7 separate regions of the Homo sapiens genome follow, and regions 1, 2, 3, 4, 5 and 7 are each linked to region 6. Evidence: promoter capture Hi-C in human tissues and cell types (Jung and others, 2019). All regions are on one chromosome and are shown on one strand. The core of a region is centred on a gene start or on the middle of the fragment in contact, and the rest is flanking DNA. Distances in the headings are between cores, read along the strand shown.

Region 1 (3,960 bases), core at 943-3,442, 180 kb after region 6:
ATAATCCAATTATACTCCTTTCATTATTTTTAAATATCCAATAAATTACTGTTGACTGTAGTCACCCTGTTGTGCTATCAAATAATAGGTTTTATTTATTCTATCTAACTATATGTTTGTACCCATTAACCATCCCCACTACCCCCACCCCTCCACTGCCCTTCCCTAGTCTCTAATAACCATTGTTCCATTCTCTATCTCCTTAAGTTCAATTGTTTTGATTTTTAGATCCCACAAATAAGTGAGAACCTGTGATGCTTGTCTTTATGTGCCTGGCTCATTTCATTTAACATAATGACTCTAGTTCCATCTATGTTGTTGCAAATGACAGAATCTCACTCTTCTTTATAGCCCGGTAGTACTCTATAGTGTGCCATGTTCTATTTATCCACTCATCTGACAATGGACACAGATTGCTTCCAAATCTTGGCTGTTATGAATAGTGTGCAATAAACATGGGAGTGCAGATATCTCTTCAGTATACTGATTTCCTTTCTTTTGGGTCCATACCAGCAATGGGTTGCTGAATCATATGGTAGCTCTATTTGTAGTTTTTTGAGGAACCTCCAACTGTTCTCCATAGTGATTGTACTGATTTGTATTCCCACTAACAGTATACAAGGGTTTTTCCCTTTATTCCACATTCTCACCAGCATTTGCTATTGCCTGTCTTTTGGATAAAAGTGATTTTAACTGGAGTGAGTTAATATCTCATTATAGTTTTGATTTGCATTTCTCTAATAACCAGTGATTTGAACACCTTTTTCATATACCTGTTTGCAATTTGTATGTCTTCTTTTGAGAAATGTCCATTCAGATTTTTGCCCGTTTTAAAATCAGATTATTGGATTTTTTTCTGTAGAGTTGTCTGAGCTTCTTACATATTCTGATTATTAATCCCTTGTCAGATGGATAGTTTGAAAATATTTTCTCCCATTCTGTGGGTTGTCTCTTCACTTTGTTGATTGTTTCCCTTGCTGTGCAGAAGCTTTTTAACTTGATGTGATCCCATTTGTCCATTTTTGCTTTGATTGCCTGTACTTGTAAGATATTACTGAAGAAATCTTTGCCCACTCCAATGTCCTGGAGAGTCTCTCCAATGTTTTCTTGTAGTAGTTTCATAGTTTGGGGTCTTAGACTTAAGCGTTTAACGGATTCTGATTTGATTTTCACATATAGCAGGAGACAGGGGTCTATTTTCATTCTTCTGCATATGGAAGCTTCCCAGCACCATTTATTGAAGAGACTATCCTTTCCCTAACATATCTTCTTGGCACTTCTATTGAAAAATGAGTTCACTGTAGATATATAGATATATGGATTTGTTTCTGGGTTCTCTATTCTGTTCCATTGATCTATGTGTCTGTTTTTATGCCATTACCATGCTGTTTGGGTTACTATACCTCTGTGGTACAATTTGAAGCCAGCTAATGTGATTCCTCCAGTTTTGTTCTTTTTGCCCAGAATAACTTCAGCTATTCTGGGTCTTTTGTGATTCCATATAAATTTTAGAATTGTTCTTTCTATTTCTGTGAAGAATGTAATTAGTATTTTGATAGGGATTGCACTGAATCTGTAGACTGCTTTAAGTAGCATGAATATTTTAACAGTATTGATTCCCCACCTATGGACATGGAATATCTTTCTGTTTTATTGTTTCCTCTTCAATTTCCTTTATCAGTGTTTTATAATTTTCATCGTAGAACTCTTTCAATTCTTTGGTTAATTCCTAGGTGTTTTATTTTATTTGTAGCTGTTGTAAATGGGATCACTTCCATGATTTCTTTTTCAGATTGTTTGCTGTTGGCATATAAAAGTGCTTCATAGTGTACTTTACTTCATGGTGCCCGAAATCTGCTGAGAGGCAACTGGTGACAGAGACCTGAAGAAAGTGGAGCCCAGAAATGTCTTGGATTTTGACTTTATCTCTTTCTTTGATGGTCTTTCATGATGCTAAACAAGTCCTGTGTGCTTAGATAGAAACTGAAGCTTGTGAGAATGTTTTCTCTTTTACCTGGGGTGGATTGGGATCCTCACCATACAGCATTAATTTCTTAACGATATATATAATCATAGAAGACAATAGAGGCATCATTCCAGACAATATTTTTAAAGCCATTTGGCACAAGAAATAAGACAAGCAAAAATCCAAAAAGTGACAAAAGCTCTACCCAATGAGGGGGTCAGTCCCATCTAAGTAATGCAAAAATGGGATTGGCTTGAGGAAGTAGGAATGGGAACCCAGTACTGAAGTTATAGGCCAAATCAAAAGATGGGAAATCTAGAAGACATATTTCTTCAAAAAGATAACATAAAGTGCTTAGGGTCAGTTCAACAAAAGCCTTAAGGATCAAACCTGAAGAGACAAAAAATAGCAACAGACGAAGTAAGGCAATAAGCAGAGAATCATAATACTTACACAACCTCAAGAGGTTCTCTTGATATGACCTGCTGAGAAATAAAATATTATCTGAAAATTGCAAGACTCCAAGATGTTGGCCCAATATTCCTATTATTAAGGAATTAAATGTGTCTTCTGCATTTCCCATATTTTGATTTGGCTTGTAACTGCAGTACTGAGTTCCCATTCCTACTTCCTCAAGCCAAACCCGTTTTTGCTCCTTGCATGGTAAACCACTGGACTGAAGCTCATTAAGCCTTCCTTTCAAATTTTATTTATTAATTTTCAGTTTCGTTTTTCTCCCATATGAGAATAAGATCGACAAACAGCTTTACAGTTTGAAAAACTTCTTTCTATAAACAATAAACATTCAGTTTTATAAGCAGCCTTTGTCTCTGTTACTATTTATTATGTATATGTTGCATTTCTCATGGACATTTGTCAATGAGAATTTTTAATCTCTGTGGTAAGGTGTTTTCTTCCATTTATTTATTTATTTATGCATTTATGTGTTTATGCATTTGTTTATTTTGATGTCAGGAAGCCCTACAATTTAGTTGACTTATTTAATCATTCAAGAGAATAATATTGAAACAGTGAATTTTGATAGCATCATGTCTGGGTTCAATTATTAGCTACATCTTGCTAATCTGTATAATAGTCATACCATAGGGCTTAGTTAATTGTAAATACTCAATAAATTTTTATTTTTAACCTCACCATGTTTACTTAGTATTTATTATGAAAATAACAATATAATAGTTATTTCAAAAGTAATTGATTGATTTATGCAATAATTATCTTTACTTTCAAGAGGGTTAAATTCTATTAAATTATAAATGATACATTTAATTATCATCTAAAATCAACAGCATCTTTTACTGTTTAGAAATTATTTCTCTACTTAGTATCAGGATCTCTCCTGTCCTGATGATTATTATCATTATTATTTGTTTTAGTGACAGAGTTTTGCTCCATCACCCAGGCTGGAGTGTGGTGATCCAATCACAGCTCACTGCAGCCTCAAACCCCTGAACTCAAGGGATCCTTTGCCTCAGCCTCCTAAGTAACTAGGACTAAAGGCATGCACTACTATCCCTGGCTAATTTTTTTTAAAAATATTTTGTAGAGACAGGGTCTCAATATGTTGCCCAGGCTGATCTTAAACTCCTGACCTCAAGCAATCCTCCCACCTAGGCCTCCTAAAGTGTGCGCCTCCACACCTGGCCTAGACCCAAAGAATAAATAATAATCAATTGCTCTGTGCAAGAGGTTGACACAGGATGTGGAAAAGTGTTCCAGGCAGAGGAAGCTGCAAGCGCAAATCCCTACAGAGCAAAAGTACATGGTTTTGGGGTAACTGGAAGTCCAGTATGGCTATGTTATAGAAAGGGAAGTGAGAAGAAAGTAGGTAGTGTTAAATAACTTGGACTTCATCCTGACAGTATTCACTTGCCAAAGAAGAGTTAGGAGGAGACAGATGTGATCAAATGTGTTTCACTGGCAGCAGCATGGGGAGTTCACTAGGGGCAGGATGGGGACAGAAATTGAAGGAGAGA
Region 2 (4,057 bases), core at 95-2,594, 160 kb before region 6:
CTATCTCAAATCCTTACAAATATACATTGCTGCATTTCCAGTGAAATGACATATATAGATTCTTATCCCCCATAACAGACATTTAATGAATCAACCAAGATGCAAAAAATTTAATGTAGGAATTATCCTACCAAAGGTTTTTCTTGTTTATTTTTTTAAGTAAGGTGTGTTCCTCATGTCTAAGGTAAATATAGGTATATGGTTGCCTTTCTTTTCTGACAAGAAAGCCTGGTTCTTGGTACTCATCATGATGTAAAGAGGGTATACTCCTTGTAACTGTGCTGCAGTAGCTCCAGTGTAGTTCATCCTTTGAGTTCTAAGGCTATATTTCATATGCCTTCTCATGAGATTTTTCTAGAAGTCTTAGTTCAAAATGAATTGCCTACACGTCAGCATTCCCCAGCCACATTGAGTAACCACAAAGCCAGTTCCAGCTGTGCATCCTAACATTCTTGCAGCAGCCTCACTCTCCCCTCCACAACACACATCTTGCTTTGAGGTTGTTTTCCTCAGCTAAGCACAAAGTGCAAACATTTGCAACAAGCCTGCCAAGGCAGAAAAGAACTGAAATTGATGCTACCTCACTTAGTTTCTCTTTCTGATCCATATCATATTCTGCTGTCAGAGTAATCTCTCTTGAGTACCAGGCAGTTTTATTGATTTCCATTTTTCTACCATAGAAAATGAACGCATCACCTTCCTTCCAGGCCTCCTTTATCTGGTTTTTCCTTGACATTAAACCTTGCCTTCACTTCTCTAGCCAGGCTGGACTACTCCCTAACACAGTTTTAAGTCCCCTTTTCACATGTTTTGCCTTACTTGCTTAATTTTTCAATAAATATTTCTAAAGCACCTACTACGTACCAGGTATAAAGCATGGCACTTGTCAAGAATGACTTCCTCTCTCAGTCTGTCATTTCTCACCCAAATTTCAAATTTCCTATCCAGTGCATTCTGTCCATTAACATGGTGTAGACTTTTCCAGCACTCATTATTCTTTGTTAATTTAATTCTGTCTCCTTAATGATGTAGAAGTTGCTTATAGGCTTTAGACCTCTGTATACTTTGCCGCACTGAGTAGATGCTAAGCTAGCCAAAAATAGTTACTAGTAGAGGAACATCAATGAAATCCTAAATCTTATTAGAACTGCAGTCCAACTAAGGTCTCCAACCTTTACTTAGAAAGTGAAGAGAAATTGTTAGGAAACTGATGAATAATTGTCGCCATCTGTGCAGATGTAAGTGAGGAACATGGAGTCACTTTTGCTCTTTAAAAACGTATGGTGTTGATATGTGTCTGAGGACAGCGGGGGTAGGATGCATGCAGAGGAAAGGAATGTACTTTTATCTTACACAACCTGGTCCAAATCCCTTGGTTTTCTACCTTAGTATCCTCCTATTAGTACAAAACTTTTTTGACATATTGTGTTCCCATTTTTTCTGCATTTTCTAGGCATAATTTTGAGTGTTCTTTCTGTTAAAGCATAGAATTAACCCAGCTCTCTGACCCTTGCCTTATGCTTTGAGATGGTGCTTTCCTAGCACTATACTCATAGTGTTTTCTTCATTTATTCTGCAGTATCTCTAGCTGTTTCCAACATATTATCATACTGTAAATACTTTGGTGCACTCATTTAATCAAAAGCCCACTTTATTCATTTTACTTTGTAATTCAATTCCCAGTGCGTCTTTTTCAGCACAATTGTTATGAATTTTCAATTTATTTTCATGTCTATTTTTATAGCTGCCACTTCTACAGTGTGGCAAGCTTTTTTTCCTTAACTTTAAAAACATCATTTCTGAAAGAAAGCTGTTCTGAAATCTGGCTTTTTCAGCAAACTGAACACCCACATGATGAAGATAGAATGGTGGAAGTTAGAGGTGGAAAAGATGCGTAAGGTCATCTTGCCTATTTTTTTAAGCAAATAGAAATATGTATGTACAATAATGTTGAGTTTACATAATTTCCCATTTCAAGCTTAGAAAATCTTGTTGACCCCCCGCCCCCACTCCATTATATGTTCTCTTATCTATGGGTTTTGCTAGAGCCTTATGAGCTTTGATAATAGTTCACATTTTCTTTGAAATCAATTTGCTTTGTACTGTAGAATGTGAGTCTGATTGATTCCAAATTAATTTTTGTCTTTTAAAGAATAATAATAACTTGCTTTTACCTACCTTTCTTCTTTCCTGTTTATAGGAGTAGTATTCTCCTTATCTATTGCTTTCTAACAAACCAACTCAAAACCTTAATAATTAAAATAACCTCAGTCATGTGTTATTATTTCTCATTGTTTGGCAGGGAAATGGGGCTTGTCTAGGCAATTCTTGTCCAGGGTCACAGGAGCAGCTGCACTCAGATGATAGTGGCTGCTAGAGTTATTTTACATGATTTTTCACACACACAGCTGTTTGATGGCACCTCAGCTGGAGTTTCCAGCTAGAACACCTGTCAGTGGCATCTCTAGGTGTCCTGGGCTTCCCTTGCAGCATAGTGACTGGATCCCAAAGGCAAGCATCCCAAAATAGAGGTGAAATCAGTATCGCCCTGTGTGACCCTAGCCTCCAAAGTTATACATCATTTTTACCCAGGAGTCACAAAGGACCACCCAAGTGTAGGCAGGGCAGGGACAGCGGTCGAGGGTGAGGAGTAGAGGAGGTAGGAAAATAGACTCTACCTCTGGATGAGGGGAGTGGTAAGGTCACATCGTAAACCATGGGATGAGAGATATTGCTACTCCCAACTTTGGAAAATACAATCTTCCACAGTGGTTACATAATCAACTACTTATTATTTGCAGTGGATAGAGAAAGATTTCAATTTAGATACCAGTTTCAACCTCTTTTCACACCAAACCGTACATAAGTGCCACAAATAGACTAAGCAACATGCACAGCTTTTCACTTTACTCATTTTGTCTTAATGCTTCCTGATCATTCCCTTTACATCAGATACAATCAATGAAAATGAAGAGGAGAAAAAGACTTGCTAATTCATAATCTGTGTACAATGGGCTCTAAACATATCCTTCAACAAGTCTGGGCTGTTTCTCTGCTAGCTATGTGAACCTAAGTGTCAGTTGACTTCCCTGGACTTCAGTGTGGTTAAATTATCCCAAAGTTCTCTTTAAGCTCTTATGTTCTAGAATTCTGACTTATATTTGCAGGTCTAAAATTCTATTTCCATGTGCTAAATAAAGATCATTAACAGTACCACCAGATAATTATTCTAATGAATGTGCATATGTTTATTTTTCTATTTTGAACCCCATGGAAAACCATGAAATCAATTCCCATCACATGCTCCTCATCACAAATAAGATAAAATAATTATGCTTCTGCTTGGAGTTGAGTGTATCCAAATTACACTTATTATTTTTCCTCTCCCTTTTATCCTAGAATAGTCCATCAAGCCTCAGAAGTTTTACCATGAAAACAATAATACTGTTCGGACAATGTGTTCTCAATAGGCTTATTGGTAACTTCTTTATTGATCAAACCTGAATCTCTGGTAACATGAAGAATTGAAAACATCTGGATTCTGTTAGAAGCATGGAACTCACTTGGGAAACTGGCTGCTAGTGTATTGGACATTCACAGCACAGCACTACCCCTGTGGTTTTATAAATAAACATGAAACTCAAATCTCCAAAACAACCACTAAGGCCTCTAAACCAAAACACCTCTGCCTGGGCAGAGGTGGCAAAGCAGTGGTTAACATACGTCCCTAATGTCATTCATTAGTAATATTTAATTATTTGTTTCAGTCACTCTGAATAAAATAGTTTGTTAATTATAGATAAAATCTCCTCTTTCTCTATCAATTTTTATTTTGAGAGTTTAATTCATACTTTCCAGCATCTCCTAAGAGCTTTTCTCTATCGTCCCAATCAAGTGATCTCTCCTATCTTGCTGTAATCAACAAGATGATTTTTCTCCACTTCCACAATTTTCTGTCTCTCATTTATGACTTTGAAATCAGTATGTCTTTCCCCGATCTTTGCTACAATAAACAAGCCTCTCTAACAAGTTTGGTCTTACTCCTATTTCTAAATCC
Region 3 (3,974 bases), core at 692-3,191, 200 kb before region 6:
CACATCACCAGGAGGGTGAAGGGAATGCACACGCTCCACCTCATCCTGTGATCTCCAGAGTCAACTGAACATCCCCATCCAGATGGCACTGAAAAGAACCTCTGCCAACCCTACAGCCAAGTGGTTTTAGACTCATGGCTGAAAGGTAGAACTTAAGAATATATATATATATATATATATATATATATATATATATATATATACACACACACACACACACACACACATACACATACACACCTATAAAATGAAATTTCTAAACAACCATTTTATAAAATGCTATTTGTCTTAATCAATACAAGATAGGAGCTATATGTAAACTGATGTAAAAGCCTTTTAAAATAAGAATGACATCAAGTGGGTCCATTTCTCAGTTTCATCTCTTGTCACTAAGCAACTCCAGGCCTTTCCCTGGTTCTGCATTTTCTGTTTGGACATTGTTAAGTGCTATGCACTGGCATCTTCCCCTCTAATCATTTTATCTCTGGCCTCAATTTCTGTATTTGGTATGAAAAACAGTGTGCTCTGTATCACGATTCAACAAAACACAGATTTTTCTAGGTAATTTAGGTGGAGTAGTAACAGGTCACCTTTTCCCCAACTCCCATTCATTTCTTTGGCCCTTGGTCTTTAAAATCACGAGTCTAGTAATTTTTAGATGCAAATTATGAGCCTTTTCCCATAATATTCCATGTCAATCATTGCTAGGTACCTATCATGTTTGTTGTTTATCACCCAAAATATATTTTTATTGCCTCCTAAGAGGTTTTACATAACAACCAACAACACTTTGTAATATATTTGCATTTTTTCCTGAAATGTCACGAGTAACATTGCCTTAAAATGATTCCAAATGCAAGAAGAGCTAAGTGTGAATTCCCTGTTGTTTTAGAATTTTGGCAGAGGCTCCAAAGCTGATAAGGAAGGGTGTTAATTATCTGCACAGTCTAAAAGGAGATGCCAGAGCAGCTAGGAAAACCTTGCTGAGGGGTAAGCCAAAACACAGTTTGGTCACCTTTAAACCAACACTCTTCATCTAGGGTATTTACAAACAGAGGAAATTGGCTGCGGGAAGATTGAGAGTTGAAATTTTTCTCTGGTGAGATTTCCAGAGTATGGAGTATCACCCTTTGAGGTAACAAAAGAGGGCTGCCCCACATTGCCCCCTGCAACAAGCTTAGTAAGAAAAGCACCTCAGGGGCCCCTTCTGAAGTGAACAGGCACTTGCCAAGACTGGGGAGACTGACTACCCGTTCCCTAGGGATTTTTGCAAGCTGCAGCAACCTGAAGGCCCCACGGCCTCCCAGTTCTTACTGATCACGTCACTGCTGGGTGTGGCCACAGAAGGTCTAGAATCTGACTCTCCCCTGGTTAAGTGGGAAGGATGGAGGTAGACCACAGATTACCTCAAGGCAGAGAAAATAAAGAGTGCTCACAGTATGAGGAAGCATCACTCCCATTGTGGGTATCCCTTGAGCTGATGGATGCATTCAAAATCACTGGTCTTGAATTACATTGATATAGCTCTGCTCTAGAGGGCTTCCTTCCATGAGTGAGGCATCTTTGGTGGAAAGATAATAGAGGTATCCAGTTAGAGGAAATGAAGGTGGGCAGGGGGTGGTTATACATGGCCGATCAGAGATTGAATTACTTCACATAAGAATTAGGGCTGCAGCAAGTCTCGAGTGGAAGGATTCAGAAAGTCAGTATGAAACCATAAAAGTAAATGCCCCCAAACTCAGTATTTCGGTACCTCTCACAACCATGAGGGCAACCACTGCTAGATAACAACTTTCTCATTTCCTTCCTTCTCTTCCCAGCTTTCAACACAACCCTGGAGCATTCAGACACAACACAGAGATAAGAGGAATTGAGAAATTTGTGAAAATGGAAAAGAAACTGATCATCTGATCATGTGTCCAATCTCTACTACAGGTTTTGAGCTTGAATTAGGCTCATATTGTCAAAAAGAGAGAAGCTTCACTTGCATGAGAAATTGAAGTTTTTATGTTAGATTTATCTTCATCCTTTTTATGTTGCTATAACAGAATACCTGAGACTTGGGAGTTTACAAGAAAAGAGATTTCTTTAGCTCGTGATTCTGACAACTGGAAAATTCAAGATCAGGCAGCTGCATCTGGTGAGGGCCCCATGCTGCTTAAACTCATGGCAGAAAGTGGAAGGGGAGCTGGCATGTGCAAAGAGATGACATGGTGGGAGGAAGGAAAAGATTGGAACTGAGGAAGCCAGACTCTTTTTAACAACCTGCTGTCAGGAAATAATCCATTCCTGCAAGAGGAAGAACTCACTTGCCCCCACAGGAGGCCATTAATCTACTCATAAGAGATCTGCCCAATAACCCAAATACCTCCCACTAGGCCCCACCTCCCAACACTTCCACATTGGAGATCAAATTTCAGCATGATCTTTGGCAGAGACAAACCAAATCATAGCAAGACTGGACTCGGGTTTTTAAAAACTTATAGAAATTTTCGAACATACGAAAATAGAATAGTATAATGAACTTCCATGTCCTTATCACCCAGCACACTACCCTGATATTCTACATATTAAAAATTTGGAGCACAAGTATACTTGACTATTTTAATACCTAAATGTGATGACTTCATTTTGATGTTTAATCACTGGCAGCTTTCAGGCCCCACGCTTCTTCCTTCCCCTTTTACCTCACCCGGAAGCCAATAAGAAAGCCTAGGATTCTCCCTCATGTGATTGTACAAATTCCATAGGTTTTCTGGTCTCTTTTAGATGACATAAACAGTCTTATTTTTAGTGTTCTGTGGGTGCCCTGTTAGGGAAGGATCAATTCCCCACTCAATATCATTTTGGGTATCAGGACTGATGGTGTTATACATGCACCCAGAGGGTATGAATATTACTCATATAATGAAACTCTAGGGAGAATATGGCAGGTATTCAAGCTCTTCTGGAATGGCTTGAGTCAAGAGAAGAGCAAGTACTTTGGATTTTTATTATAGTTAGGGGATGGAGCCTGGGTGAGTTTCACATAGCTCAGGGATTACCTCCTCTACCCACAGGCATCACCTCAGGGTATCCATGCTTCTTGTGCCTACACCTTCTCCTGGCTGGCTGAGTGTTCTGGAAGTCTAAGCGCAGAGAGATAAAAGTTTCTGCAGAGAGCAGTTTCTTCCAGCAGAACAGTGCTGTGCCAGAACACTGAGGCCAGCAGTGGCATGGCACTTTTCCCAGGATCAGCTCTCACTGGGAACACTGAATATATATTATAAATTATACCTTTTCATAGATGAATTTCTAGGAAAATTTTATTCCCTATTTTCATGAGTTGTTCCTCCCTAACGATAGATGTTAAAGGCTCTAATTGTCCCACTGGAGAATTAATTCAGCAAATTATCCAGCACCAATGTCAGAGGTGTAGCTCTCCCTTCTGGATATTCAGTTGGATAAACTCATTGCTTTCAACTTGAAAACTTTGGAATCAGCTCACAACCTGAGAAACTATTCAGGCCTTCCTAGGTTTTTAATGGAATACCATAAAATCTACGAGGGAGAATTGCTTCATTTCTCTAGATTTTTTTTAGGAATGAGCTCAATGAACAAAAAATAGCATAGATTCCAAATCTCTCAACCCTCAAAACAGTTTTCTTCTGGAATTTATCACTTTTTCAACTACTAAGTGAATGCTCCATTGTGGCAGGTTATAAACAGTGTGACATGCTGAAGCCAGTTTATAAGAGCTGTTGGTGTACGTCTCTTCCTGTGAGGCTTACATAGAACATTTATAGTTATATCAGGTTATTTTTATGGTTATAACAGATTATTTTAAGCTAATAACAATTATGATCACATACAAAACCTTTACATTTTTGCTCCCCCTGCATATTTTATGTTTTTATGTCGTAATTCACATCTTTTTATATTGTTCCCCTAACAAATTATTGTGGTTATGATTACTTTTAATAGCTTTGTCTTTT
Region 4 (4,264 bases), core at 488-2,987, 240 kb before region 6:
GGAGGGAGTGGGGCAAGGTTTGGGTACACAAGGGACCCAAACCTGGATTGGATTTGGATTGCTTTGTAACTAAGATATGGCCTGTAGGGGATCTCTGCAGTTTTTGCTGGCTTGCTCCTTGGGAGCTTACTGGTGAAAATGTTTGTAATCTTTGCCTACTGAATTATCTGCCAATAAAATTCCAAATTTCCCTTTTAATAAAATGGAAATGGAATATTTTTAAGTTAGCAGTGGTAAATATCTCTGACCACATTCTTGCCTCTTGGTTTTATAAATGCAAGAGAAAAGAGATGGTTTCTGGTACATCTGAATTTACTTTTTCATGAAAATTCTGAAGTTAGAAAAAAGACTATATGATTTCCAATAAGTTTTGGAGGGACTGACCCTAGCACCCCAATTTTCTTTTAATCTCTTCTTAAATCAAATCTTTGTAAATAATGCTTTCACATTCTATTAAAAATGTATAGAGAAATATTCACCCAATTATGTGAGGATCGTAAACCAGTCATTACAATATGTGCTAGCATACCCTTGTTTTAGTCTGTGAAGTGTAAGTTTTGCTACCCTAAACCTCTGACTACCCTGCTGTCATCCTGCCTCACTTCCATGAGGAATATTTTGTCTGGGTCTATAGATTTTCCCAGTCCCCGGTGTGTTAATGTGAGAATTGAGTCTCCAGTAAGAGCTGTTACTCTTCCACATCTGCTCCTTTCCTTGTAGGCCCCCAAGTCTTCTGAACTAAGGAGAGAAAAAAACTCTATAAAAAAGAAGAAGGGCTGGGCTCCGTGGCTCATTCCTGTAATCCCAGCACTGGGGGAGGCCGAGGCAGGCAGATATCGGGAGCTCAAGACCAGCCTGGGCAACATGATGAAACCCTGTCTCTACAAAATCATACAAAAATTAGCTGGGCGTAGTGTTGCATGCCTGTAGTCCCAGCTCCTTGGGAGACTAAGGTGGAAGGATGACTAGAGCCCAGGAGGCAGAGGTTGCAGTGAGCCAAAATCACATCATTGCACTCCAGCCTGGGTGACAGAGAGAGACTCTGTCTCAAAAAAAAAAAAAAAGAGAATCAGATTTTGCTACTCATATAAGATTTCCCTGGGTTTTTAATCACAGAAATTTATCACAGGTTTTTCAGAGTCTGACCAAAACTCCAAACAAAATTATGCAACAGACTTGTTCTAATGATAGTTCCTTCAAATGGATCAAAATAAAGGATTCATTGTTTACGAAGCATGGGACAGTTTTACGCTTGAGAGATTCTAGGCTTACTGGAGGCCCTGAGCAATAAATGGAAGTACACATTCATATATGCCATTTAAAAGTTATAAACCAAACTAACAAAATGCCAAATAAAAGGTCTTTTAGTCTCCTTCCTTGACAAAAATATCTTTTTAATGACCAAGGAGGTCACATTTCAATTTAGAATTCTCAGGCTCTCCAGAGTTCTGTGCTTGGGCTTGGCTTACCCCACCTCCTGCTGAAACCTGTCACCCACCTTCTTCTGTTCCCAAACCTTGGCTCCGTCCTGTACCTTGAGTGTCCTTGCGCACGTGTTCAAGCTGTGTCCACTGCCACTTGGAATTTAGGGTGTGCACACTGCTGATACTATCCATCCTCAGGAGAGTAAACCCTAGAAAGACATCTGGGCTAGCTCTGGGATTGGATGCAGGGCCATTGAGGCAGGAAATTCTAGGATTCCATGGATCTGAAGGTTAGTTCAGAAGGGAACATGGGCTCTGAGTGGGCATGGACTCTGGGTGGGCACATCCTCTTGGCCCCCTCTTGGTCTATGGGACAGGGAAGGCTATATGCTATGTGAAGAGGTAAGATAAGAAGAGGGCAGAGCAAGACCCTTGAAAGCAAGAACAGAGTAGGGCCCCAAGCAGAGGTTTGAAGGCCAAACTGATACTATCTTTTCATAGTGTCTTGAACATAATATATTCTTATAAACTGCCTGTATTGATTAACTAACTCACTGATTCCATCTTTGTGAATTTTTATTTTATATATACAGACATATATTCATCTTGTTCTTAGGAAATCATGGCCAATCCTGATATGATCAATGTATACAACTAAAAGATGTAAAGGAATCAAAATTCCTCTTTACACAAACTTTGCCTTTAGGAGATCATCAAACTTATTTTATTCTTTCCTTGTAACATTTAACTACTTCATATGAACGATATTAATGTTGACTTCTCAGTAATGGTCGTGTAAGTTGTTCTAAGTGTTTACCTCACCCATCCTTACAAAAGTATACTTACACATGCTGTCTGCCTCTCCATTGTGAATTGGGAAAATCATAAGCACTCAAGAATAAATAAATACCTGCTCTGCTGTTGTTTCAAGGTACATTGAGTCCCCCAACAGGAAACTGCCCAATTATCCCTTATCACCCTACCATTTAGAGTACCTGATGCTGTGATTTTGATTTTCAGTGTGGGGGCTTCTTTAGTGATAACTAATTACATATGCCACATCTCTCCTAGATCAATTGTACTTCTGTTTCAGGTTTTCTCAAGAATTGCTGCCTATCTCTTTAAGTTGCCCTGCTGGGTCTCCCAACAGGAATTTCACAATACTGCATAGCTTCTATTCTAAATCAAACCACCCCAATTTTGATGAAAATCCATCTAATTTATTTTGTGGAATGTGGTAAGAAGTACAGAGAATCTATTCCATTTTACAGAATATAGAAAACACTTTTTCTTAATTTTCTTTGTGACCTAAAACCCTCTCTTCTATCTATAACTTGTGCAGTACAGTCATTTCCACACAATAATTAAGAACTTCATACATGTGTGTTTGTTTCAGAATATTAAACTATTAGAAAAGGACACCTCAGGGCAGGTGTAGTGGCTTATGCCTGTAATCCCAGCACTTTGGGAGGCCAAGGCGGGTGGATCACCTGAGGTCAGGAGTTCACGACCAGCCTGGCCAACATGGCAAAATTCTGTCTCTACTAAAATAATAATAATAATAGTAATTAGCCAGGCGTGGTGGCAGGTGCCTATAATCCCAGCTATTCAGGAGGCTGAGGCAGAAGAATCGCTTAAACCTGGGGGATGGAGGTTGCAGTGAGCCGAGATCATGCCACTTCACTCCAGCCTGGGCGACAGAGTGAGACGCCGTCTCAAAAGACAAGAAAAGAAAAAGAAAAGGACACCTCTGTTTATTGTACCCTGTGGGGTGCCATGAGGGTATTTAATAAACGGTGTTTATTGCTAGAATCTTCCCCTCTAACCCAATATTCTCTGAGACTTTGTGGGGAAGAAAAATTTCCATTAACTCTCTTATTAGAAGAGGAGCCTTATTCTTCCAGACATGAAACTGTAGAGGACTAAAATGTTCTATCTGAAGCTACAGAACTGAGAGTATTCTTTATTATTCCTAAAACTAATTTTATTATTTCAAAAATCCACACTGGGTTTGATTTAGAATATTATCTTCTGTGGTACACGATAGGGTGCTGTAACAAGGCACACACAGATAGTGTTTAATCAAGACTCTTACATAATAGTCCCAGTGGTCATCCCAGTCTGGGCTGTTATGGCGACTCCTTTATGTCAGAGGACTAGGCTTCGCCAGCTTCATCAAATTCTCCTATCCTAGACCCAAAGTAGCTGCTCTAGCTCCCACCATCATGTCCCCATGCCTTCAAGAGCAGAGGAGGGAAGGGAAATGTGGTCAGTCCTTAACTTAGAAGATAGGAAGTTTACCAGTAAAACAAATGGTGAGAATGAATAGATATTGGGGGCACATGTAATTATCTGTGACATGTTGCAGCTTAATTTTACGGCATTCTAAATAGCATTTGGAATTAAATGTGAGGCCCGGAAAGAACATGTGCTTTGAATGGAGCAAGGAGAATTGGCATTATTCTACTTGAAGATGTAATCTGTGCAGAATACTTTGAGATCTTATTCTGTAACAATAGATAACTTTAAATAGGTTCCAGGCACTTTCCTGAGTGCTTTACATGAATTATCTCGTTTAATACTCAACCCTATGAGCTAGGTATTTTGATTCCCCCATTTCATAGATGAGGAAACTAAGGTGTAAAAGGCTCAGTAGGCTGCCTGCAGGCACAGAACTAGTAAGTGGTAGAGCTGGTACTTGAATCCAGGCATTCTGAGTCCAGAGTTGCCCCTCAAACCACTTCTGGTCCAGGCTCCACTTGGAATATTAGTCTGCCTGTTGAGATTGGATAGGAGGAAAGATTCCCCAAAACCTTGAGTTTAAATAAAAGTTTTTAAAA
Region 5 (4,156 bases), core at 466-2,965, 180 kb before region 6:
CACGTGATTTTGTCAAGTGCCTTTCTTCCATGGCCCTGAGGTTTGCAGTGAGTAACTCCCCAGTAAGTGACGTTTGTATTCTCCCATCCTTAACCCCTAACTCACCTCTGTGCTTGCCCATTTTCCCCATCACACAACCCCTGCCTAAAAGAAATCTGTGAATTTTCCCCATGAGGAAACTAATGAAGTCCTAACCCCAAATGAAGAGTGGGTTCCTTCCTTCCTCCAAACAAGTTATATAAAATGCTTCTCTAAGCTTCACCAGTAGGCTATACTTCTGGTTTTTTTGTCTGTTTGTTTTTTGCTTTTTTTTTCAGAAGATATATTATTCTGCTAAGAATCCTAGTGGAATCATCAAAGGTCACTACTACTAAGAAGAGCATTTTGACAAAAGACCCTTCCTCAAGGACCTCTGTGCTTTCTGACAGAGTGAAAATTTAAAAAAAAAAAATCTCTGAAAAGGAGAAAATCAAATGAAAGTCATTCCAAAAGAGCACCATATGGCCCACAAGATGTGTGGGTATGGAAGACTCATGCAATGAGGGAAACACACAGATTCTGGAAATCAAAAATGAGCCCCCCCACCCCCCACAAAGTAGGTCATCCCTCATAGCCAAATTCTGAGACCAAATTTCTCATCGCATACTTCTAATTTAGTTTACCTCTGTTGGCATAAGTATGTTCATTTAAAAGTGAATTTCATTCTCACCTCAGCATGGCTCATATTTGTGGTATAGCTAAATGGCTTCATCTTGAGGGTGATGTTGTGCAGCATATGTTACTAAAGTATAGCATCATCTTCTGATTTGAAAAAAAAGAAATGTACATTTGAACTCACTTTGGAAGCATATGTATACAAAATTGTTCTCCTTTACAATAGCTAGCATTGTCATAAAAATTGAAAGTAGGTTCAGAATTAGTAAAGAACTCTCATGGCTTCCTTCAGGACAGGGTTTCTCAACCTTGGTACTATTGACATTTGGGGCTAGATAATTTTTAATAGATTTCACTTTTTAGAGAAGTATAAAATTCGAGCAGAAGGTACAGAGGAGTCTCTTCTACCACTGTACCCAATAATTCCAATAATTTTTTTGTAGGGAGATGTCTTGTGCATTTTAAGATGTTCAGCAGCATCCCTGGCCTCTTCCACTAGATGCCAATAGCATCTTGCTGTTGTGAGGACCAAAAGTATCACCAGACATTGTCAAATGTCTCCTGGTTAAAATCACCAGGCAAAATCACCACTAGTTAAACATTATTCTTTCAGAGCTGGGCCTTACCCCTACAGGAAAGATAGAAGGTAGATTCTGTCTTTGAATTTATTAAGGAGCATCATTTTTTAACCCGACTCTATAAAATAGTACAACATGGGTAGATGTTTTATGAGTATTGATTTCTTCAGATAAAGCCACTACAAATTCATTATAAGCATTTGAGGAAGATGAGACAGTTGGAAGTGGGGTAGAAAAGATGTCAGCAGGAGGCCAGGAATGCTCCATAAGAAAGACACACACAGTGGTAATCCAAGGTCCATCTCCAACCCTGCATGTTCACAAGCTCAATATAGCTCAAGAATTATTAGCTAATTGATCAGACTTGGAGTTTCAATTCACAGGAAAAAAGCTAATGAGACATTATTAAATGGAACAACCATTGATAATTGGTAAATTTGCAATGAAAACGTCATAAAAAGGATCGTAAAAAGGATCAAAATCCATATGAGCTTTACCTGCACAATTTCCTCCAGTAGGTTGAGCTGCATGGAAACTAAATTGTCAGAGAGTATGCTGTAAATATGAAATCAAAACATGGAAAGTAAGACTTGTGATCTGATAGTTTAAAGGGCATCAGGGTTTACTCAGTCTGACATGCTCATCTCCACAGTGAGGCCCTTCCCCCTGCAGCTCTGGGGAAAGTCACATCTGAATTAATATTTCCACAAGTTAATGGGCTGAAAAAAGATCCAAGAAGCTTGCTAAAATTCAAATTTGTGGACTCTATTCCCAGAGATTCTGATTTACTAGGATGGAGGTGGGGCCAGTCATCAACATTTCAAACAAACATCCCAGGTGCTTGTGAAACACAGACCTGCGATCTCCTTTGTATCTGCCTTTTTCCCTTTGCTTCTGTAAGGTTCTGCTTCCTCTGGTCCACATAGTCTTTCTCTTAACATGTTAACACCTTCAGAGGTTGCAGTAAAGCCTGCCAGCCTGGAAAACTCTCTGTCTCCGTAGGTAATGCTGGAAATATAGGTATTGATTTCCACTCTATCAAAATGTCAGCATATCTCCTTTATTTCCTTACTGGGAATGAAGGAAGGCAAAAGGTACAGACCACAATGTTAGTCCCATGTGACACCTACAGGTAGTAAAAAGATGATTTTCTTAAATTATTGTTGAAATAGCAAACTTGAGGAAAGGTTGTTCCTCTCTTTGAAGCAGGCTACGACTTTTTGTTGTTGAGTTTAGGTTATTGATTTTAGTGAAATTACCAAACCAGAGAGCAGAATATTACATACTGAGTAATAGGCACCCCGACTTGTCTCCAACGCCCCCAATTAACTAAACTGAATGTCCTGTTCTTCATATTATAAGCCCATCTGTCCATTCATTCTATAAACATTTGCTGAGTATTATTGGGATAATTGTTATTTTTCAGGTTTTGAGATGTAAATTCTCCACTCTAGGGTGCATAGTTGTAGGATGGGGACTAGAGAGGGAGTAGAGAAATAAATAAAGGAAGCTCTAGGTGGAAGAAAAGAGAAATAACTTAACTCTAATAGGGTAAGTGTGGTCTGGGAGTGGAAGGGAGGCAGCAAGGCTTCTCGGAGTAGGTTACACGTGGACCGTATAGAGGGGGTGAGGAGGAGCCCATCACACACAGGATGGAAGAGATGACATTCAAAAACGATGAAATGTGAAGTGCAAAGACAGAGTACGGTGAGAGAGACTAGTGCTTCCTGAGATCTCTCAGTGACTTGTTTGGCTGAAATAGGAGGTGCATATGGAGATGTATCATGTCAGGAGGTAAGTAGGAGACACTCCATGAAGGGCCTTGTACAAAATGCTGAGGACTTTTGACTTGGTGAATTAGTGTAGAAATGAGTTCTTAGTTATTTTAAGCCGAAGAAAGGATACGAGTGGGTTTATGTTTAAGAGAGATCACCCTGTAACAAAGTGGTGGTTTCCTAGAGTCAGAGATTCAAGAAGAGGCTAAAAGTTTTTGGCTTGAGAAAAGATCATGAATAAGGGTAAGGCACAGCGTCATCTTGTCGAACATAAAATATAAAAGTTTTAAAACCTTCATCCTCTGAACAATCCATTTGCTTTAAGAACATTTTCTGGTAGTGCTCAGAGTCTGTTGTATAGCAAAGAAAGATGATGATTGAATCCACTCGCTGTTGTCATGTATAATTTTTAGACCATGGAAGTGACAATTTGTAGGTTTGAACAAGAAGTGTGGTAGAAGAAAATAATGAAGAAGGAGGAAGGAGAAGTGTCAAATAATATATGAAGAGCATATATTACATTTGAAGAGCATATTTGTAGTGGTAGTTAGTTAGGAAGTGAAAAAAGCTAGGGAGACGGGCTGTGATAGGATGAAATACTGAAGATTACCATATAAGCGCCAGTGAGGGGTTGGCGGAAGGTGGGGATGGTTAATGGGCACAAAAATAGAAATATTGAATAAGACTATTTGATAGCACAATAGAGTGATCATAGTAAATAATAATGTAATTACATATTTTAAAATAATCTAAAGAATGTAATTGGATTGTTTATAACTCAAAGGATAAATGCTTGAGGGAATAGATACCCCATTCTTCATGATGTGCTTATTTCACATTGCATGCCTGTATCAAAACATCTCATATACCCCATAAATACATACACTTACTATGTACCCACAAAAAATTTAAATAATTTAAAAAATTAAAAAATATATATAAGAGGCAGAACAATTCTAGGTGATGAGTCAATATTATGTACAACTATTGCAAGAAATCCCTGCAATAGATGGCCTTTCAAGTATATTTGTAATCCACCACTCACGCTCTTTCTCTTACTCCTGAAGCCACAGTGGGCAGGGTGACAGACTCTATGTCCATGTTCATGATACTGTGTTTTACCATAGACCAACTGGACCAATCAGTTTC
Region 6 (3,797 bases), core at 9-2,508:
AAGAAGTCCCCGAGCCTGGCACCCTTCAGTTTTCCCTATGCTGAATGTGAGATTTAAACTGCCTTTTCTTTGTAATACACTGTTTCTGAAGGCCAGAGGCTGCGGCCAGTGGCACCGTGGCCTCTCTCTCCGCCAAGGGCGCATAGGCTTTGGGCCACCCGGGTGCCAGGGGTGGTGGAAGACCCAGTCAGTTGTTCCTTGCAACAGGTCTCTAAGCTTGTATGTTACAACATAAGGTGGGTGGGGTCGGAACCCCGAAAAGCCGGCGTCCTGGACACCCCATCCTCCAGGTGTTCTTTCCCAGACACTGGGTCCTCGCCGCCGCTGCTGAACTTCTCAATCATATGACTTTCTCGGACTTAAATGGAAATTTCTTGACGGAGGGAACTGGGTTTGTTCTCCCAGGCTTCGCGCTGCAGTCAGGCAGAGCCCCGGGGCAGCTCGCTCACCGCGGAGGAGCCACTTTGGAGTTTTACGCCCTTTCCACACCCCACCCATGGACTGGAAAGGATGTTCAGTTACTCGCGAGCTTGTCTGATACTGGGATGGAAAGTCACAGTCCGCAGGCTGGAGTGAGGCGCGGGAAGATGCCTGGTCCTTGCCTCGCGGACTTGGCAGCCGCGTCCTGCGGGTCTGTCCACTGAACTGCTGAGGACTCGCCCGTGTGCGGGGACCCGAGTGCCACTTCCCGGAGCGTTACCTTGCGCTCCAGCCTCCAGGCTAGATAATACCTGGAAGGCAGGGCAGGGCTGTTCCCGCTCTCACCCCTTGCGGAAGGATGGCAGGATCCGGCGCAGCGACGTAGCAGCGGGAGGGCACAGCGACCTGCATCTCCAGTTTCTCCTCAGGACACAAGGCTGACTTCACCTTCCGGACAGCTGCAAAGCCCCTGCCAGAACCAAACCGAACTCGCGCCTCGGAGAGGGGCTTCTGGGGCCGTTTCGCTGCAGGGCGTGGGGAGTGGAGAGAGGGAAGGGGAAGCCTGGGGCTGGGTGTGCGCGCGTGGGAGCGCGCCTCGGAGCGCCCCGCACTCCCCCACTCTATCCCCGGGGGCAGTTTGGGAAGGAGGGAGTGGTAGTCGCGGGAATGAGGGAGCAAGAGAAACCCTCTCAAAGTGACGCCCCAAACAGGTCCGGATTTAGAATTCGAAGCTAAAGGCTGTTAGAAATTGGGACTCCTCGGCCTCCTCTGCAGCCCCTCCTTTCCCGCCCCGAAGCCCGGGCGGTTTGCTGGCTGCCTGCTTCCCCGCCCCCGGCTCAGAGGTCTCTGGCTGGCGGGCGCCCCGTCGGCCGCCGGCTTCCTCCTTGAAACCCGCCGGCGCACATGAGGCCGCTGCCCCCGCCGCAGGCGCTGGCGGCCCCCTCGCGGTGCCCGTGGTGATGCCATGCCCCGCCACCACGCGGGAGGAGAGGAGGGCGGCGCCGCCGGGCTCTGGGTGAAGAGCGGCGCAGCGGCGGCGGCGGCGGGCGGGGGGCGCTTGGGCAGCGGCATGAAGGATGTGGAGTCCGGCCGGGGCAGGGTGCTGCTGAACTCGGCAGCCGCCAGGGGCGACGGCCTGCTACTGCTGGGCACCCGCGCGGCCACGCTCGGTGGCGGCGGCGGTGGCCTGAGGGAGAGCCGCCGGGGCAAGCAGGGGGCCCGGATGAGCCTGCTGGGGAAGCCGCTCTCTTACACGAGTAGCCAGAGCTGCCGGCGCAACGTCAAGTACCGGCGGGTGCAGAACTACCTGTACAACGTGCTGGAGAGACCCCGCGGCTGGGCGTTCATCTACCACGCTTTCGTGTGAGTACCCGCGCCCCCTGCTATGCCCGCTGCAGGGGACCACTGTCCCTGGCCCCCTGGGGCGTGCTCCGCGCTCGCGCCCTTGGGCCCCCGCGCGCGTGCACACGTGGTGGCTTTTATTTCTTCGCACGTGTTCGTGGTCTTCCTTCTGGAGCCTCTCCCCTCCCCCAGCCCCACTTCTCTCATCTCTACAGCTTGAACCTTTTCCCCGAGGACACCCAATGAACTGCCCGGTAGCTTCAGGCTCCCGGGGCGAGAGCCAGGCAGACGCGGGACTTAGGCTGCGCGGATAATTGGGAGCAATTAGGTCCCAAGATACGTAAACTTCAACCGAACGGGGCGCCCGGGAGCTAGGGAATGCAAAGGGAGGACAGGCGCCCGTGTGAGGCTTGAGAGTATACTGGAGAGGTTAGGAGGTGATGGCGGGGTAGGACGGGGAGAAGTGAGGGGGCATCGAGGGCTAGGTCCTCAGTCCTAGGGGCGGAGTAGGGGAAGCTGCTACTTGGAGAGAGCTGCTAGGTTTTAAGCGCGCCCGGAAACACGCCTCGCCACCACCCAGCCACCACCAACGGAAAATCTGTCAGTGCATGTAGCCCTTCCTGCCACGGAGAAGGTGGCCAAGGTCTAGAGGAGGCCAGCAGGCCAGGCGAAGCAACGCTCCCGCGCTGCAGGGGGCGGGGAGGCAGCGGGGAACCTGGGGCGCAGGAACGCGGGCGGAGGTGCGATAGCAGAAGCGCAAATGGGTCGCCTCTGACAGAGATCGGGCAGTGGGTTAAGTCCCCGTTTGTGGCGCGGAGTCAAAGAGTGTGTGTGTGTGTGTGTGTGTGTGTGTGTGTGTGTAGTAAGCCTTCTCCATCTAGCAGAGAATGCTTAATGAGAAAATGATTGGAAGCAAATGTTTATTTTTCCCTTAGGCATTTAAAACCTTTCAGTGGCTTTAAAGTTTACTACTGTTTTTCCCACAAAGTCCATTCATTCAGTCTCCTATTAGAGTTACGTTTATCTGGGCATTTTAAGGTTGTTTTTATAATGTTACCTCGTGTCTAATTCTTTTTTTCTTCCTCTTCTCCTTTTGCTTCCTCTTTTTTTAGTATTATTATTTCTGCTTCTTTTTTGTTAAGATGAAATATAAAGACATCAACCTTAGAAGACCAGTAGAGAAAGTTGCAGATACTCGCTGATACATTCCTTGTTTCCTAGTAAAATAAGTTTTGAGCACACGGACTAGGTTTCTTTTAGAAATAAGTTATGTCATCCATACATAGCTCTCTCCTGGGATGCAGAATTAGCATCAACACCAGAAACGTGTTTTGAAATAACATGGAAGAAGGGCTGGTTTTGTAACTAGGTGAACCTGGAATTCAACCACATAGGAGTCAGGAAATTGGTGGAGTCTACAATCTGTGGGGCTCTGGTGTCTGGAAAATTTTACAGTCCCAGATTGACGTGAACATGTAGCATTAGGCAGAATATTCCAGCCAACTTTCCGTTTTACAATGCACACAAGGAGAACGGTTGTGTTGCATCATCATTACATCAAAAAGTATAACTTTTATGTAAAATTCACATTTATTTAAATGTGGTTAGGATAATGATAGAGAAATGCAACTGACACTTTTCTCGTTAATCTCCTCTGACCTGATATGTAATTAAACATATTACTTAATAAGCCTGGTAAATTATTTTGACCTGTCAGAATATACTAAAATAATTTAGCAATTATAATGCTCAATTTGGTAGCAAATATATATACTGTATAGGTTATGATTTTTTCTTTACAACAGTATGCTCAAAACATTTCTAGCCTTTCTTTTTTTTATATTATGCATTGTATATTCAGAGAGAGTTAAAGAAAGCCTTGGTTGGTGCACATACTTTGCATCTCCTAACTTGTTCTTGAACATGAATGAGAACTTGCAACACAACATTTTCTTTTCCATGTGTTGGTGTTAACAGGTTTGTATGGGCTTACAGAATTTTAAAACATTAATAAATGATTTTTCCAAAGGTTCAAG
Region 7 (4,320 bases), core at 1,734-4,233, 160 kb after region 6:
TTTCTGTACTATCTTTGCAAGTTTTCTGTAAATCTAAAATTATTCCAAAATTAAAAGTGTATTTAAAATAATAAACAATTCATAGAGTAGGCACTGTGTTACACCGCAACTGGGAAGCGTGCTCTCCAACATCAAGTTATTAACAATAACAGAATATATAGGTAGAAAACAAGGAATAGTTGCATAACCCAATAGCCATTTATAATGTAGGAATTATTCTTTGTTTTTTCTACAAATTTAAATAGATTTCTAGTCATTAAACTTTATGAATGTGAATTACTTCTGTTTACTCCAACACATTAAGGTAGGAGCTTTATGAACAATTACTTAGAGATATTTTAAGTTCAACTCTTTATATATCAAACTTCATGCAGAAGAGATGAGTGATGAAATAGGGAATTTTTTTGTTAGTAATTATGGACTATTAAAAATTAACTTTCACTCCATTACACTCTTTCAACAAATATAATACAAGCATCATAGAATGTTGGAACTGAAAGGGACATTTAAGAGATTAGTTCAGCTCCTTAACTTCACATGAAATAACTGAGTGCCAGAGAATTTGAGACTTGCCCAAGGTCATAATAAATTTGTGGGAGAGCTGGAATTCACTTATTCAGTTGAGTGAGCATTTACAGAGTATTTATTATGTTTCAAGCACTGTGATAGGTGCAAGAGATATAAAAATTAGTGAGAATTTATCCTTCAGGTGGAGGAGGCAGGGACAGGGAGAGGCAGAAAAATAAATAGATGAATACAGTACAGCGTAGAAACAAGCCAGCAGACATGAGGCCAGGGTGCCATGAAATGAAGGAACAGGTTCATTTGATACAACTCAGGCATCACCTGAGCCTTTGGAAGATGGGTGGGATTTACACTGATGAGGAGGCCGGAACAGACATTCCAAGCAAAACAGATCACATAAGCCAGAGGTAAAAGAGGGAAAGGGAAATAATGTGTTGTGAAGAGCTCCATCCAGCTTCCAGGAACTGCAGAATAGTGTAAGCAGGGAGCTGAGATGGATGAAACCAACAATGCTAGATCCTGGAGAGGATTTTGTGCCATTTAATGAGCTAAGTCTTTATCATGTAAGAAATAGAAAGTTATTGCAAGGTTTTGAATTTTAGTTTGGCCACTCAGATGGCTTAGTGGAAGTTAGATTCGAGAAGGACAAGACATTACTGGGAACCCTATCAAAGAGGTTACTATAGCACTCAAAGGACGGATGGTAAACAGTTGGTTTAGAAAAGTGGTGATAAATATGCAGCAGGGGAGGTGGAGTCAATAAATATTTAAGAAAAATGATTTGCGATTAGTTGGATGGGGGTGGGGTAAGTGGAGTGGGTGGTTGAAGGTGTTGGCCGAGGAGTCTTGAGCTAGACTCCTAGTCTATACCACAGATCTTTGGAACTTCAAATCACAAGAAGCACACATTAGCCCCGAGCTACGTTTACACATTTTTCCACCTCCACCCTAGGAAGCAGCTCTGAATATCAGCAAGTGAAACAGTTTTCGATAAGCATTTAAACAACAACAACAAAACTCATATCCTTTTGGTCTTATCCTAGGTCAAAAGGTACCTTCTTGCCCTACACACATATAATCAAGAGGAACCACAGAGGTGATTCTTTGAAGAGCCAAGATAATTTGCTTCCAAGGCTTTTGTCTTTACTCCTAGGCTACAGAGCCTGCCCTAAATTTCAGGTATACCCCATAGAGGCCATCATCTTGAATCTCTGCCCCGACACACCCTCCATTAGGCCTTGACTGTGGGTGATTGTGCTGCCTATAAAAGAGAATGTATGAAGAGGATCAAGAGAAAATATAATCAGTTCACCGTTAAAAAAGCTAAACTTCAAATGCCTGTAGAATATTCAGTTAGAGAAAATCAGTTGGCAGTAGGATAATCAACTCTGAAACTCAAGGAAGGCATGCAATTTGAAAGTCAAAGGTCACGGTAAGAGAAAAACATGAACGTGGATGCCATTTTTCAAGGAGAGTCTCTAGCATAAGTGGAAAAGTGGGAAGAATGTCAGGCCAAAGATGAAGGTCACAGGGTCACCAGCACTTGAAGTACAGCTCTCTAGTAGAAAATTCAATGAAGAATTTATAGGTTTTAGAAATCTATTGCATAATATGATGACTACAGTAACATAAGCATGTACTGTATACAGGCCAGGCGCAGTGGCTCACGCCTCTAATCCCAGTACTTTGGGAAGTGGAGACAGGCAGATCACTTGAGCTCAGGAGTTTGAGACCTGCCTGGGTAACCTGACAAAACCCCATCTCTACCAAAAAATATAAAAATTAGCCGGGCATGGTGGCACTTACCTGTGGTTCCAGCTACTCGGGAAGCTGAGGTGGTGGGGGTCGCTTGACCCCCAGAGGAGGGGACTGCAATGAGCAGAGATCACGCCACTGCACTCCAGCCTGGGAGACACAGCAAGACCCTGTCACAGAAAAAAAAAAAAGAATATACTGTATACTTGAAAACTGCTAAAAGAATAGATTTTAAATATTCCCACCACAAAAAAAAAGGTAACTATGTGAGATGATAGATATGTTAATTAGCTTGATTGTGGTAATAATTTCACAATGTGTATGTATACGAAAACATCATGTTGTGCAGTGTAAATAAATACAATTTATATTTGTCAATTCAACCTCAATAAAACTGGAGAAAAAAATTTTAAAAAAATCAACAGCACAGTCAGAAATGTATCAGAGAAACTAGAAGAGAGTTGTATCCCAGAGCACAGAAGTTCAAATAGTTTTCAAAACAAAGTGATCAATTGTATTGAATATAGAAGAGGTGCCACTATAAATAGCTTTTGTAAAGATATTCATTAAATTTGGTAATGAAGAGGACAAAGGTAACTTTAGTGAAGTGATTTCACTGTAGTGCTTGTCTTTAGTTGCAGTAAGGTGGATTGAGGAGTATGTGAGTGAAGAAGTTGAGACTGCTTTTCCACACTGTTCTTTGAAAGTGTGGATGAAATTGGAAGGAGAAAGGCAAGAAAAAGTTTAGGAGCAGAGCCGTGGGAGACTCTTGATCTTGTCTGTTTGATTTGGGATGAGATGCTTAGTATATTTGTAGGCTACAGGGAAGGATGCCCCCCTAGAAAGCTGGTGTTGACAAGAGAGGGCATTATGAGGCAGAGTCCTGGAGGAAGAAGGAGAGGCCCAGGCCAGGGTCATAGGCACACAGAATGGGGGCTGGCATTCAACAGTCAAAGGATGATAGGGATATTTCTTTTTCAGGCCCAGAAAGGAAGGAAGCAAGCCATCATAAATGAATATGTAGACAAGTTTGTGAGAATGTGTGTATGTCTCTCAGAGAGAGTGGTGGGACAGAAGGGAGTTGAAAGAGTTCATACTTGACTGTTATTTATTTACTTATTCATTTTTTTTTCCTAGTAAGAGGTAAGGTAATCTGCTGAGAATAAGGTTAGGTGGAGTTCTAGGAGAGCAGTGAGTATTTGGATGAAGACTGAGGAGAGTAGGCAAAGGAATTACCGAGGAAAAAAATAAGAAGATTAAACTAAGCGGGAGGGTTCTTTTGGCATTTTGTTTTTTGTTTTCAGACGAGGTGTGATTCTGTTACCCAGGCTGGAGTGCAGTGGCACAAGAATGGCTCACTACAGCTTGGACCTCCCAGGCTCAAGGGATACTACCACCTCAGCTTCCCTAGTAGCTGGGACCACAGGCACGAGTCACCATGCCCAGCTAATTTAATTTTCTGTGTGTGTGTGTGTGTGTGTGTGTGTGTGTGTGTGTGTGTGTGTGTGTGTGTGTGTGTGTAAAGATGGGGTCTCCCTCTATTGCCCAGGCTGGTCTCAAACTCCTAGTTTCAAGCTGTCCTCCCAGCTGGGCATCCCAAAGTGCTGGGATTACAGGCATGAGCCACCATGCTGAGCCATGAGTGGGAGATTCTTAATTGGGATCAGCAACAATCTATAGTCTTGCATAATTTTTCAGTTGTACTCAACTACCACTATTTAGTTAAAGGCATTTATTAAGTATTCTTTACTATGTTCTTGGCATTATGCATTGCAAACATTACCACAAACCACAGTAGGTAGGTACATTTATTACCCCAATTTACAGGTTAAGTAACTTCTCCAAGTTTGCACAGCTGGTAAAAAGGCAGAACAGAGGCCTGTCCGACTCCAAGCCATATGTTATTTTCCATATGTTATACTTCCTCCCAAGGAGTTGGAGCTTTAAGAATTGATAAGACATTTTGCTTAGCCTGAGAAAACTCCTAATGCACAAGAGAAGATATGCCAATAAATAATCACAAGCAAATGTGAGGTATTG

The links. Contacts are between HindIII fragments. The study calls those that stand out against the background at their distance.
Region 1: a contact is called between a fragment that was not itself captured here and the fragment with the promoter of KCNQ5 in region 6, in 3 of the 25 tissues and cell types used here (bladder, heart right ventricle and lymphoblastoid cells).
Region 2: a fragment that was not itself captured here is called in contact with the fragment with the promoter of KCNQ5 in region 6 in 2 of the 25 tissues and cell types used here (adrenal gland and dorsolateral prefrontal cortex).
Region 3: a contact is called between a fragment that was not itself captured here and the fragment with the promoter of KCNQ5 in region 6, in 1 of the 25 tissues and cell types used here (dorsolateral prefrontal cortex).
Region 4: a contact is called between a fragment that was not itself captured here and the fragment with the promoter of KCNQ5 in region 6, in 2 of the 25 tissues and cell types used here (lymphoblastoid cells and mesenchymal stem cells).
Region 5: a fragment that was not itself captured here is called in contact with the fragment with the promoter of KCNQ5 in region 6 in 2 of the 25 tissues and cell types used here (dorsolateral prefrontal cortex and mesenchymal stem cells).
Region 7: a contact is called between a fragment that was not itself captured here and the fragment with the promoter of KCNQ5 in region 6, in 1 of the 25 tissues and cell types used here (dorsolateral prefrontal cortex).

The regions. Positions count from the first base shown.
Region 1 is chr6:72,804,169-72,808,128 of GRCh38, forward strand. The region is part of intron 1 of KCNQ5 (potassium voltage-gated channel subfamily Q member 5); the gene reads left to right. Among named protein-coding and RNA genes, the nearest start is that of MIR4282, 160 kb to the right of the region's middle. The HindIII fragment of the contact is 6,866 bases long and covers 1-3,960 here.
Region 2 is chr6:72,460,865-72,464,921 of GRCh38, forward strand. No RefSeq gene overlaps it. Among named protein-coding and RNA genes, the nearest start is that of KCNQ5, 160 kb to the right of the region's middle. The HindIII fragment of the contact is 3,583 bases long and covers 1-3,136 here.
Region 3 is chr6:72,419,278-72,423,251 of GRCh38, forward strand. No RefSeq gene overlaps it. Among named protein-coding and RNA genes, the nearest start is that of KCNQ5, 200 kb to the right of the region's middle. The HindIII fragment of the contact is 3,074 bases long and covers 405-3,478 here.
Region 4 is chr6:72,375,698-72,379,961 of GRCh38, forward strand. The region is part of intron 29 of RIMS1 (regulating synaptic membrane exocytosis 1); the gene reads left to right. Among named protein-coding and RNA genes, the nearest start is that of KCNQ5, 240 kb to the right of the region's middle. The HindIII fragment of the contact is 9,411 bases long and covers 1-4,264 here.
Region 5 is chr6:72,440,242-72,444,397 of GRCh38, forward strand. No RefSeq gene overlaps it. Among named protein-coding and RNA genes, the nearest start is that of KCNQ5, 180 kb to the right of the region's middle. The HindIII fragment of the contact is 3,628 bases long and covers 1-3,529 here.
Region 6 is chr6:72,620,806-72,624,602 of GRCh38, forward strand. KCNQ5 (potassium voltage-gated channel subfamily Q member 5) reads left to right here and starts at 1,259. Exons shown (of 14, transcript NM_019842.4): 1 at 1,259-1,782. The coding sequence starts at 1,385. KCNQ5-DT (KCNQ5 divergent transcript) reads right to left here and starts at 1,874. Exons shown (of 3, transcript NR_186827.1): 1 at 1,727-1,874. RefSeq lists silencers at 1,254-1,513, 2,544-2,593 and an enhancer at 1,944-2,895. The HindIII fragment of the contact is 7,455 bases long and covers 1-3,797 here.
Region 7 is chr6:72,776,082-72,780,401 of GRCh38, forward strand. The region is part of intron 1 of KCNQ5 (potassium voltage-gated channel subfamily Q member 5); the gene reads left to right. Among named protein-coding and RNA genes, the nearest start is that of KCNQ5-IT1, 150 kb to the left of the region's middle. The HindIII fragment of the contact is 7,591 bases long and covers 1-4,320 here.